3 separate regions of the Homo sapiens genome follow, and regions 1 and 3 are each linked to region 2. Evidence: promoter capture Hi-C in human tissues and cell types (Jung and others, 2019). All regions are on one chromosome and are shown on one strand. The core of a region is centred on a gene start or on the middle of the fragment in contact, and the rest is flanking DNA. Distances in the headings are between cores, read along the strand shown.

Region 1 (3,381 bases), core at 619-3,118, 46 kb after region 2:
AGGCTTAAAACAACATCCTTTTATTATCTCTTCGTTTCTGTGGGTCTGGAACCCAGGCACGGCTCTGCTGGGTTCCCTGTTTCATGGTCTCTCCCAAGAATGCCATCAAGGTGCCAGCCAGGACAAATATCTCATCTCATGGCTCAACTGGAAAGGGGTCACTTCCAAGTTCATTCACTTCATACAACCTGTCGGACTGAGGGCCTCAGTTCTTCCCCGGCTTTTGGCCTGAAGCTGCTTTCAATTCCTTCCCTCTTGGGCCTTGCAGAACGGAGAGCTTGCTTCATTAAAGCAAGCAAACCAAGAAGGCAGTTGAGTTTGCCATAAGACAGAAGTCACAATCTTTTGTAATCTCATCATGGAAGCCACCTCCCACCACCTTTGCCATATTCTTTGGGTTAGAAGCAAAGTCATAAAGTCGGGCCCACACTCAAGGGAAGAAAATGACACAAGGGCACCCAAACAGGAGGTGGAGGTTGTTGGAGGCCCTCTTAGAAGTCTGCCTAACACCAGTGGGGAGGTCCCGAGAGAAAAATATCTCAAACTACCCTCCCCCCGGGTCTGGACTCTCCTTGAGAACTATTTAAAGAGAGAATCTTTTAAGGGAATTAAGTGGCAAAGAAAAAAAGTTATAAAAATGCTAATACTCCAAAAACTTTCTGGGGAGTTCCTAATGGTTTATAAGCACTGTGCTTAGTTTCTTACGAGACTGCCTTTTAAAAATAGTAATTAATGGGCTGGGCGCGGTGGCTCGCATCTGTAATCCCAGCACTTTGGGAGGCCAAGGCGGGCGTATCACCTGAGGTCAGGAGTTGCAGACCAGCCTGGCCAATATAGTGAAACCCCATCTCTACTAAAAATCCAAAATATTAGCTGGGCGTGGTGGTGGGCACTTGTACTCCCAGCTACTCAGGAGGCTGAGGCAGCAGAATCACTTGAACTCAGGAGGCAGAGATTGCAGCAAGCCACGATCGTGCCACTGCACTCCAGCCTGGGCAACAGAGTGAGACTCCATCTCAACAAAACAAAACAAAAAATAGTAATTAATGGAAAACAGGTAATTCACCTGTAATTTATCAAAACCAAAGCTTCCTCACCCCAACCCCTACACAGGGTCAAATTCAGTGTTTTGTCCTCGGGAAAAACCTGACAGTGTTCTAGTTGTCTTTTGCTGCACCACAATCATCCCAAAGTTTCACAGCTTAGAGCGATGTGGGGGTTTTTTGGTTTGGGGTTTTTTGTTTGTGTGTTTTTTAAGACAGAGTCTCAGTCTATCACCCAGGCTGGAGTGCAGTGGTGCAATCACTGCTCACTGAAGCTTTGACCTCCCGGGTTCAAGCGATTCTCCCGCCTCAGCCTCCCTAGTAGCTAAGACCACAGGCTCATACCAACACACCTGGTTAATTTTTTAATTTTTTGTAGAGACAGGGTTTTTCCATGTTGTCCAGGCTCGTCTCAAACTCCTGGTCCCAAGCATTCATCCCATCCCAGCCTCCCAAAGTGCTGGGATTGCAGGCACGAGCCACTGCTCCAGAATCAAAGCAATGTTTATTCTGCTCACGAATCTACAACTTGGATAGGACTCACTGGGGCTCATGTCTGCTTCACTCAGCATCAGCTGGGCCACTTGAAGACAGGGGACTGGAACCTTCTGAAAGCTCTCTCACTTACAAGTCTGGCAATTGATGCTGGCTCTCAGATGGGGCTGTGACCAGGATACCTACAGGTGGCTTTTCTGTGCATCTGCTTGGGCTTCCTCACAGCATGGAGACTGGGTTCCGAGGATGAGCACCCTGAGAAAGAGAGAGCCAGGCAGAAGTTATCCCCTTTTATGACTTAGCCTTCAAAGTCACCTGGGGTCACTCCTGCCACAGTCTCAGGCCTGCTAGATTGAAGGGATGGGAACATAAATCCCATATCTCCATGAAGGAGATCAAGTCATCGAGGTCATTGTAAGGAGGGCATGTGGCATAGGATATATCCGTGCATTCACCTTTGGAAAATACAATCAGCCACAGAGAGCAAACAACCCCACCACCATCCCACCCCTGAGCTTTCACGGGTGTCAGTGACAACAAGCATCGTAGGATGAAAAGAAGTCAGCAATCATGAAAAAATAAAGCAGCAAGAAGTACAATCCTTTCCACCTCGTCTCCCATGAGAGCAGGAGGTTGGGAATGAATCCATCTCCCTGAACTAGAGAAGAGACGTGCAAGGTCACTGGGCCGAGCCTGTGGGTTTGGGTTTCTCAGCTGGCCTGTTACGATGAAGCTTGTTCTTGTCTATTGCTGCACACCAAATTACCATAAATTTAGCAGCTTTAAACAACACCCGTTTATTATCTCACAGTTTTGTAGGTCAGGAGTCCAAGCAGGCTTGGCTGGGTTCTGCTCCGGTCATTACAAGGCTGAAATCCAGGTGTCCGCCAGAAATTCTGTTAGCCAGGGCTTCTATCATCAGTTCTTCTCTGCAGGGCGCTGCTAGGGAGGTCCTGACCACCAGAGGGCACTAGAACCACAATCCCGGTCCCAGGGAACTTTGCTTGTGCTCCCGCCCCTTTCTGTCAAAATGCTGTCCGGCCACCAGCGGCAGCAGCGTCTGGGAACTTGTTTGAAAAGCAGAACCTCAGGACTTAAAACCAGACCTGCTGAATCAAAATCTGCATTTTGTCAACTCCCCCACCCAGGCAATTGGTGTGCACCCTTGAGGGCCAGGCTGTAACTCAGTGGTTCTCTACCTTGGCTGCGTGTTAGAACCACCAGAGGAAGTGTGTGTGTGTGTGTGTGTGTGTGTGTGTGTGTGTGTGTGTGTGTGTTTGAGATGGAGTCTCCCTCTGTCGCCCAGGCTGTAGTGCAATGGCGCGATCTCTGTTCACTGCAACCTCCGCCTCCCGGGTTCAAGCGATTCTCCCTCCTCAGCCTCCAGAGTAGCTGGGATTACAGGCTCCCACCATTACGCCCGGCTAATTTTTGTATTTTAGTAGAGACGGGGTTACACCATGTTGACCAGGCTGGTCTCGAACTCCTTACCCCAAGTGATCTGCCCAGCTCGGCCTCCCAAAGTGCTGGGATTACAGGTGTGAGCTACCGCGCCTGGCCCAGAGGAACTTTTAAAATCCCTGATGCAAGGGACTACCCCCAGAGATTTTGATTGCATTGGTCTGGGGTGCAGCCTGCTGCCCGGATTGTTAAAAGTTTCCCTGGGGATTTTACTGTGCAGTTAAGGTTGAGAAGGGCTGCAAGCCTGGGTCATTGCACACTGTAAGAACCTTGTGTATGAATGGAACTGTGCTATGGAACAACTCCACACCACCTGTGTGTGTAGGCATAGGAGAAACACATAAACCCTGACCCTCAAGGGTCTCCTGGAATGCAAGACCTC
Region 2 (3,167 bases), core at 304-2,803:
AGTGGAAGTAGCTCTCAACAGTTGGGGGAGCCAGAAGGGAAATGGTTTTCCCCTGGAATCGGGCTGCTCCGCAGCACCGGCTCTCCTTGGACTGCCCCAGCCAAACTCCGCGTCCTTCTGGTGGGTGGCCTGCCCGCGTGCCAGCGTCTGTCATGTCTTCTTCCGCCAACATGTTCCTCTGGATGTCCAGCGGCTTGTGTGTCTGCTTGCTAGGGTCTCAGAGTATTTATAGGGACAGGATGGGGGCGGGAACAGGATGGGGGCGTGGCAGGCCAGGGTGGTCTTGGGAAACGCAACATTTGGGCAGGAAAACAAAAATGCCTGCCCTCACCTAGGTCAGTTGGCACAGGGCCAGGGGTGGAGCCCTAGCCAGGGACCACACCCTCCTGTACCCAGCACCTCCCTTTCCCCCTTCCATATCATTTAAAGGGACCCCGCCCTTCCCTCCCCAGCACTCCCCTTCCCCACCTCCTTATCAATGTCATCACCCTGGACTGACTCCAGGAATCACTGTAATGTGGGCTTAATAAGAACAGAGCTCGGCTGGCCGCGGTGGCTCACCCTGTCATCCCAGCACTTTGGGAGGCTGAGGCGGGTGGATCGCTTGAGCCCAGGAGTTCGAGACTAGCCTGGGCAAGATGGCAAAACCCCATTTCTACAAAAAATATACAAAAATTAGCCAGGTGTAGTGGCGCGCCCCTGTAGTCTCAGCTACTCTGGAGGCCGAGGTGGGAGAATCACTTGAACCTGGGAGGCAGAGGTTACAGTAAGCCGAGATAGCGCCACTGCATTCCAGTCTGAGCGACAGAGGGAGACCCTGTCTCAAAACAAAACAAAAACAAAACAAACAAAAAGCGGAGCTGACAGTCAAGGTGAATTTCACGTTTGCCTGTATTCAGTTTTAGCATTACATAAACCAAAAGAAGAATGCCATAAAGGCTACAGGCAGCTAATACAGAGAGGTGTTACTGGAAAAGGAACCAGAAAGAGTAAATATCTCCTAAACGTATGATGGGACAGAAAGATAAATGCCTATTACATATAGTTAATATCTGTTTGATTAGCCTTATTTACATTCTCCTTTTAAAAGGTCTTACATTTAGCATCTTAGATAGAACCCACAAAATTTAAATATTTAATAGAAACTTAAAATTCCTGTATCAGAGGACAGAAATATATTTTTCTCACACGTGATTAGTCTAATTGCCACTATTAATCCTATTAATATTCTGTTAAATAATAGCATTTCTGTAGCGAAAAGCAAACAGTACGGAAAGATAATTTCAAACACCTAGTTTTCATATTTTTGTGTTAAAGTAATAACATATTTTGGTATAGATTATCATTTTTTGTTTGTTTTTGTTTTTGCTTTTTCTGACCTGGTGTGTTAATGCCCTGGGTTGGCCCTCTAAGAAGCTGGCCACCTACTTCGGGCCTCAGGTGTCAGACGCCCCAGCTTCGAGGTCTATGGCTCCCAGCAACTCGAGCGCCTGCGCCTGCGCATTCTCAGCCGGACGGGAGCGCCCAGAAGTCTCCGGGCGCCGGTGGGCGGCCTTGTGGACTGCGCCGGGCATGCTCGGCGGTGTGACGGCTCAGGACTGCATTTCCCAGAGGCTGCAGCTATCCGGCCAATGTAGCCTGAAACTACATTTCTCAGCGGCCACTGGAACGACCTCAATCTCTGCCTCCTCGCCAGTTCATTGTGGTCGTTGACCCGGCAGCGAGCTTTGGAGTTCATCGAGGGAGAAGTCAGCGCCCAGCTCCGAGGTTGGAGCAGCCCCGCCGGGCAACTTGAATTTCTGCAAACGAACACAGCACCGGGAGCTCTGCAGACCTGTGTCGGCGCGGAACCCGGACTGAGACATGCGTGAGCGTTGGGTGGACCGGGCGAGGATCCCGGGCCGGCGAGTGCGGGAGCGGCAGGGCAGGGAGGGTGCGTCGGCCGGGGCCGGTGTGCATCCGCGAAGACTGGGTGCATGGCCTCCATGCGAACCTGAGCTATTAATATTTGTTACTATTTTGGATAAAATCACTGTAATTGATTTATGTAAAGGAGCAAAAGACTCTTCAACTCTCAGTTTAAAAAGGAAACGATAGTTATGATACCTTTTGCATGCAGCGGGAAGAAATGGGATTGCCAGGAAGCCTCTTCTTGTTTGGAAAAAACTGTATAAAGTATTTACACCTTTTAAAGATGAGAGCAATGTCATCTGAAAATTATCAGTGCAGGGAAAAGGACTTCAAAGGATCTGTTGTGCAGATTACTTAACTAATGACAAAATTATGTAAGAAAGGAGAGCAAGATGACAGCTGTAAACATTTCCATCAATCTCCATATTGCACAGAAATAGGACCCAGCTTTTTCTTAAGGTTCTTCAATTTTGCATTATCCCACAGCAGTAGCTCTCTCTCTCTAGCTGCTAGGGGACAGAGGAAATTGAAATGTCAGAGAATCTTTTCTGTTGGTTTTTTATTTGTTTGTTTTTAAAGAAGAGTTGCTCTTAATTTTTTAGTTAGAATTAAAAGAAAGCATGCCAGAGAAACTTACGTTTTAAGTAAAAAGTGGAAACAGGTCGGGTGCCATGGCTCATGCCTGTAATCCCAGCACTTTGGGAAGCTGAGGCGGGTGGATTGCCTGAGCTCAGGAGTTCGAGACCACCAACATGGCAACATGGTGAAACCCCGTCTCTACTAAAAATATAAAAATTAGCCAGGCATGGTGGCGTGCGCTTGTAGTCACAGCTACTTGAGAGGCGGAGGTGGGAGAAGTGCTTGAAGCTGGGAGGCGGCGGAGGTTGCAGTGAGTGGAGATGGCACCACCGCAATCCAGCCTGGGCGACAGAGCGAGATCCCTTCTCTAAAAAAAAAAAAATATATATATATATATATATATATATATATATATAGATAGATAGATAGATAGATACATAAATTAAATTAAGTGGAAACAAGTGTTTAATTAAAATGAAATAAAGGATGTATAATGTTTACGTAATAACTCCAATGCAGTAGTGCCCCCTTAATCGGCAGTTTCACTTTCTTCACTTTGTTACCCTCAGTCAACCATGATCTGAAAATAGGTGATTTTGGTACAATAAGATATTTTGAGAGAGAGGGGCCATGTTCACATAACTTTTATTACAGTATGCTATTATAGTTGTTCTATT
Region 3 (3,621 bases), core at 627-3,126, 35 kb before region 2:
ATTTGCTATTCCACTTAATAATGAGAACAGGGGCCCTCTGCATTCCAGTCCCTCGGTCATACTTGCGGGATCCTCTACTTCTGCCTAACCCACACGTCCTAGAACTTTCTCCCTCTCCTTAAAGCTTACCTTCTGCAGAATGGAGTCATATACACCTGTGCAGGTGGATTCTCCTCCCCTTTTCTTACAGACCCCTCCTCAAGTTGCTTGCACCAGTACCCCTGTCTTTACCAGCCAACCCATCACTGCTTCTGCAGTCACTTCTAGCATGCCAGGCAGCCTGTCTGCAGACTGGACTTCCCAGCCTGCCTGGACTGTGTTATAATTGATGTGGATAGTACTCTTCCTTCCAAGCTTTCTTCTTCAGGTCTCCCTCAAGATCCGGGGTGAGCTTCCTCCCATTGGACCAGGCCCATCCCAGTGTGGAGCGGATATCCCCTGCAAAGGCCATCATCCCCACCAGCCCACCTGCTTTTATGGTCAGCAGCCCTACTTGAACTTCTAAGCTTGCTTTTGATTCAGGAAACACTTACCAGCTGAAATCTGGGGGTCCTGATTCAGGGCCTTGCCAGAGAACCACTCCCCCCAGTGCCCTGTCTTTTCTGGCCCACCTACCACTGATTCTGCAGTCACCTCCACTCCAGTATACAACCCGTCTTCAGACTTGGTGTCTCCGCCTGACTTTGCCTCTAAGGAAATCAACATGGGTACCATGCCCATGTCCCCATCTGTTATCATCCTGTCTCTCCCTGCAATGTTAACAGCTGTTTCCCTTTGAGAAACCTGCCAGCCCCTGAAAACCCTTCACACTTAACCTCTACTGCAGCCCTAGAACCCAATGGCAGCACAACTCAGTTGGCTTTTGGGAACTAAACACTCCCGTGTCCACTTTGGCATCAATGTCAGCATTCAGGCAGCCCATGGTGGTGCCTCGGGTGTTTTACCCATTGGTGTGGACACTCTTACTCTTGCCATGAAATGCTACCAGAAAGCACAACACTGAGGACTGTTGCTCATTTCTTGCTGATGCCAATCCAAGCCAATTTGTATTTGTGGGATCTGAAGCCCTTATGGATAGCAAAAGCTTTGGGGTCATTGGGTCTACCACGCAGAGTCTACCACCACATCTAGATCGCTTAGCTTTGGAGCAAAATGGCTGGGGGACAGCCAGTACCACAGCTCATGATGGGGGAGGCTTAGACCTGAGCGCCAGGGTCCTGTCAGCCCTGATGCACTCCTGCTGCAATTGGAGAAGCCGGCACTGCTGAGAGCAAATCAAATCTGCCCTGGGAAACACTTTCCTTCCCACCTGTAGTTAGAGCACCTGGTGCCAGCCCAGCCAAAACACGCCTACTACTACTGGAAGATTTGTGATCACTGAGAAGGAGTGTTTCAGAAGACATGGCTGTTCCCCCTTTTGTTCAGATCACCTGGGACCTGTTTGGCCAGAGCACTTGTGTTCCAGTGGAAGGGACCAGCACCATACCTGTGCTGAGATCCTTCTCTTCCTGCCCCAGTCAAGCCACCTGGGGCACACCTAACTAAAGTACACCTGTTGCAGTCTAAGGGACCAGCACTGCATCTATGCTCGGATGCCTTTATGTTCCTACCTATAGCCAGAACACCTGAATCCCACCTGTCCAGGGCACGTGTGTTGCAATGGAAGGGGCCAACATCATACCTATTTTTAGAGAGTCTTCTCTTCCTGCATATGGTCTAAGTACTGGGGCCCACCTGGCCAGAGCAAACCTGCTGGAGATACCTGCACCACTGAGAAGAAATGCATGCCACGTGATATATCTGTTCATTCCTTCCATCAGACACCTAGGGCCCACCTGTGCTGTTTGAAGGGCTGGCATTTCACCTGTGATTGGAGATGCTACTGGCAGAGGACCTGGGGTACACAGTCTGGAGCACAGGTGATACACTGGGCGGAGGCAGCCCCATTCCTGGGCTCCAGGGTATTTGTATGCTCAGCATCATTGACAGCTGCTGGCGTGGTCTTGCCCAGGGCACATCTGTTACAGTCTCCCAGGAGAACACCATACATACACCTTTAGGAAGACACTTCTATTCCTGCACTCACTCACAATACCTGGGCTCTATCTAGACAAAGTAGCCCTCTGACTTGGTGTAGTGAACACCATTGAGAAAATACCTGGCTATGGGCCAGTTTTCCATTAGTCTTAGACTGGCAGGACCCCTTGCTGCCTATAGATATCCCGTTTTGTCTTGCCCATTTGCCTTAACAAGCCCCGTTCTTTCTTTTCCAGATTGCTATACAAATATGATATAACATAGCCTTGTTCTTATTCATTAATCCTCTGTGCTAAGCTTCAGCACTTTTGCTCCATCTTTCAGGGCAAATGTACCTCCAGCATGAGCATGGAAGCAGCAGTCTCGCTTAGGACACATTTGTCACCTGCCCAGGCTTCCTTTGGAGGCCAAAGTTTGGGATCACCAACTCATTCATTTTCTTCTAGTGAAAGAAACAATATCTCATCAACTTTAAGCAAAAGCTATCCAGAAGTAGCTGATAGTGGTGGGGGACCACAGTTTGCCATAAATGGACCTTGCTCCATTAGGAAGAGGCTCCACCTCTTCTAGTTATGTCAAACAAACTTAACCTGCCCTCTATCATCCTAAAGAAAGCTGGCAGCCCAACCCTTCAGGTGTTTTGTATATATGTTAAAGGGTGTGGGTTCAGATGAGACTGGTCAGAAGTCAACACACTGGCCTTGAGGCAGTCTACTGTGGAAAGAAGAAAAAGATCAGTAAGTATATCCACCACACCATACCCAGTTTCAACTTCTCAGTCTGGTAGAACCAAGCTATGGGCCAGTTTTCCTGCCATCTTACGCTGGCAGGACCCCTTGCTGCCTGTAGCTGCCTCCTTTGGTCCAGCCCATTTGCCTCAGTGGGCCCTTTTCTTTCTTTCCTAGACTGATAAACACACACACACATATATATATACACACACATATATGTTATATGTGTATATATATATACACACACATATAATGTATATGTATGTGTATATATATACATATATACATCACGTGTGTGTATATATATATATATAGAGAGAGAGAGAGAGAATGCCTTCCTTTTGTTCATTGATCCTCTCTGCTTACATGTCTTTTCTATTTTAGTCAACGGTGGAAGAAGAATTGACTTCTTTCTATAAGTGGTGCTGTGTTGAGGCAGATGTAACTTTTCAAAGTTCTATGGCTCAGCAAATAGGAGGTGGCATAGCCACACTTTACAACTGCACAGGCTGACATCTGACATCTCTGTGTTTTGATGTAAAGGATAGCAGCCATGAGGAAGGGAAGCTCAAAGGAGGAAGGGATGGGTGACCCTCCCTTGCCTTTTCCCTCTGTGCTCCTCTTCCATCACTCTGATTTGGTCGTACGCCAGACCACCCCCGATGTGTGTTAGGGAAACAAAATTAACAAATTTGGTTGAAAATAATTAAATGTCTCATTTGTGTCTTTCTCTTTCATTTAGACTTAAGAAAATCATCCCCACATATTCACACCTCGACCAAAGAGGATGGGTATGGTATAGAGGCCCTTATGTCTAGAAGAAAAAAAGGAAGAAAAAGCTCATGGCTCCTTT

Evidence for each region. The method cuts DNA at HindIII sites, captures the fragments that hold promoters and counts their contacts. A contact is called where the count stands out against the background at its distance.
Region 1: a fragment that was not itself captured here is called in contact with the fragment with the promoter of ZNF30 in region 2 in 3 of the 25 tissues and cell types used here (aorta, dorsolateral prefrontal cortex and stomach).
Region 3: a fragment that was not itself captured here is called in contact with the fragment with the promoter of ZNF30 in region 2 in 4 of the 25 tissues and cell types used here (H1 embryonic stem cells, dorsolateral prefrontal cortex, mesendoderm cells and 1 more).

The regions. Positions count from the first base shown.
Region 1 is chr19:34,970,837-34,974,217 of GRCh38, forward strand. LOC124904700 (a long non-coding RNA gene) reads right to left here and starts at 2,791. Exons shown (of 2, transcript XR_007067237.1): 1 at 2,348-2,791; 2 at 1,530-1,793. The HindIII fragment of the contact is 3,713 bases long and covers 13-3,381 here.
Region 2 is chr19:34,925,350-34,928,516 of GRCh38, forward strand. ZNF30 (zinc finger protein 30) reads left to right here and starts at 1,554. Exons shown (of 5, transcript NM_194325.3): 1 at 1,554-1,867. ZNF30-AS1 (ZNF30 antisense RNA 1) reads right to left here and starts at 1,477. Exons shown (of 3, transcript NR_110749.1): 1 at 1,380-1,477. The HindIII fragment of the contact is 21,653 bases long and covers 1-3,167 here.
Region 3 is chr19:34,889,546-34,893,166 of GRCh38, forward strand. LINC00904 (long intergenic non-protein coding RNA 904) reads right to left here. Exons shown (of 6, transcript NR_187844.1): 6 at 2,287-2,751. Among named protein-coding and RNA genes, the nearest start is that of LINC00904, 14 kb to the right of the region's middle. The HindIII fragment of the contact is 4,130 bases long and covers 1-3,621 here.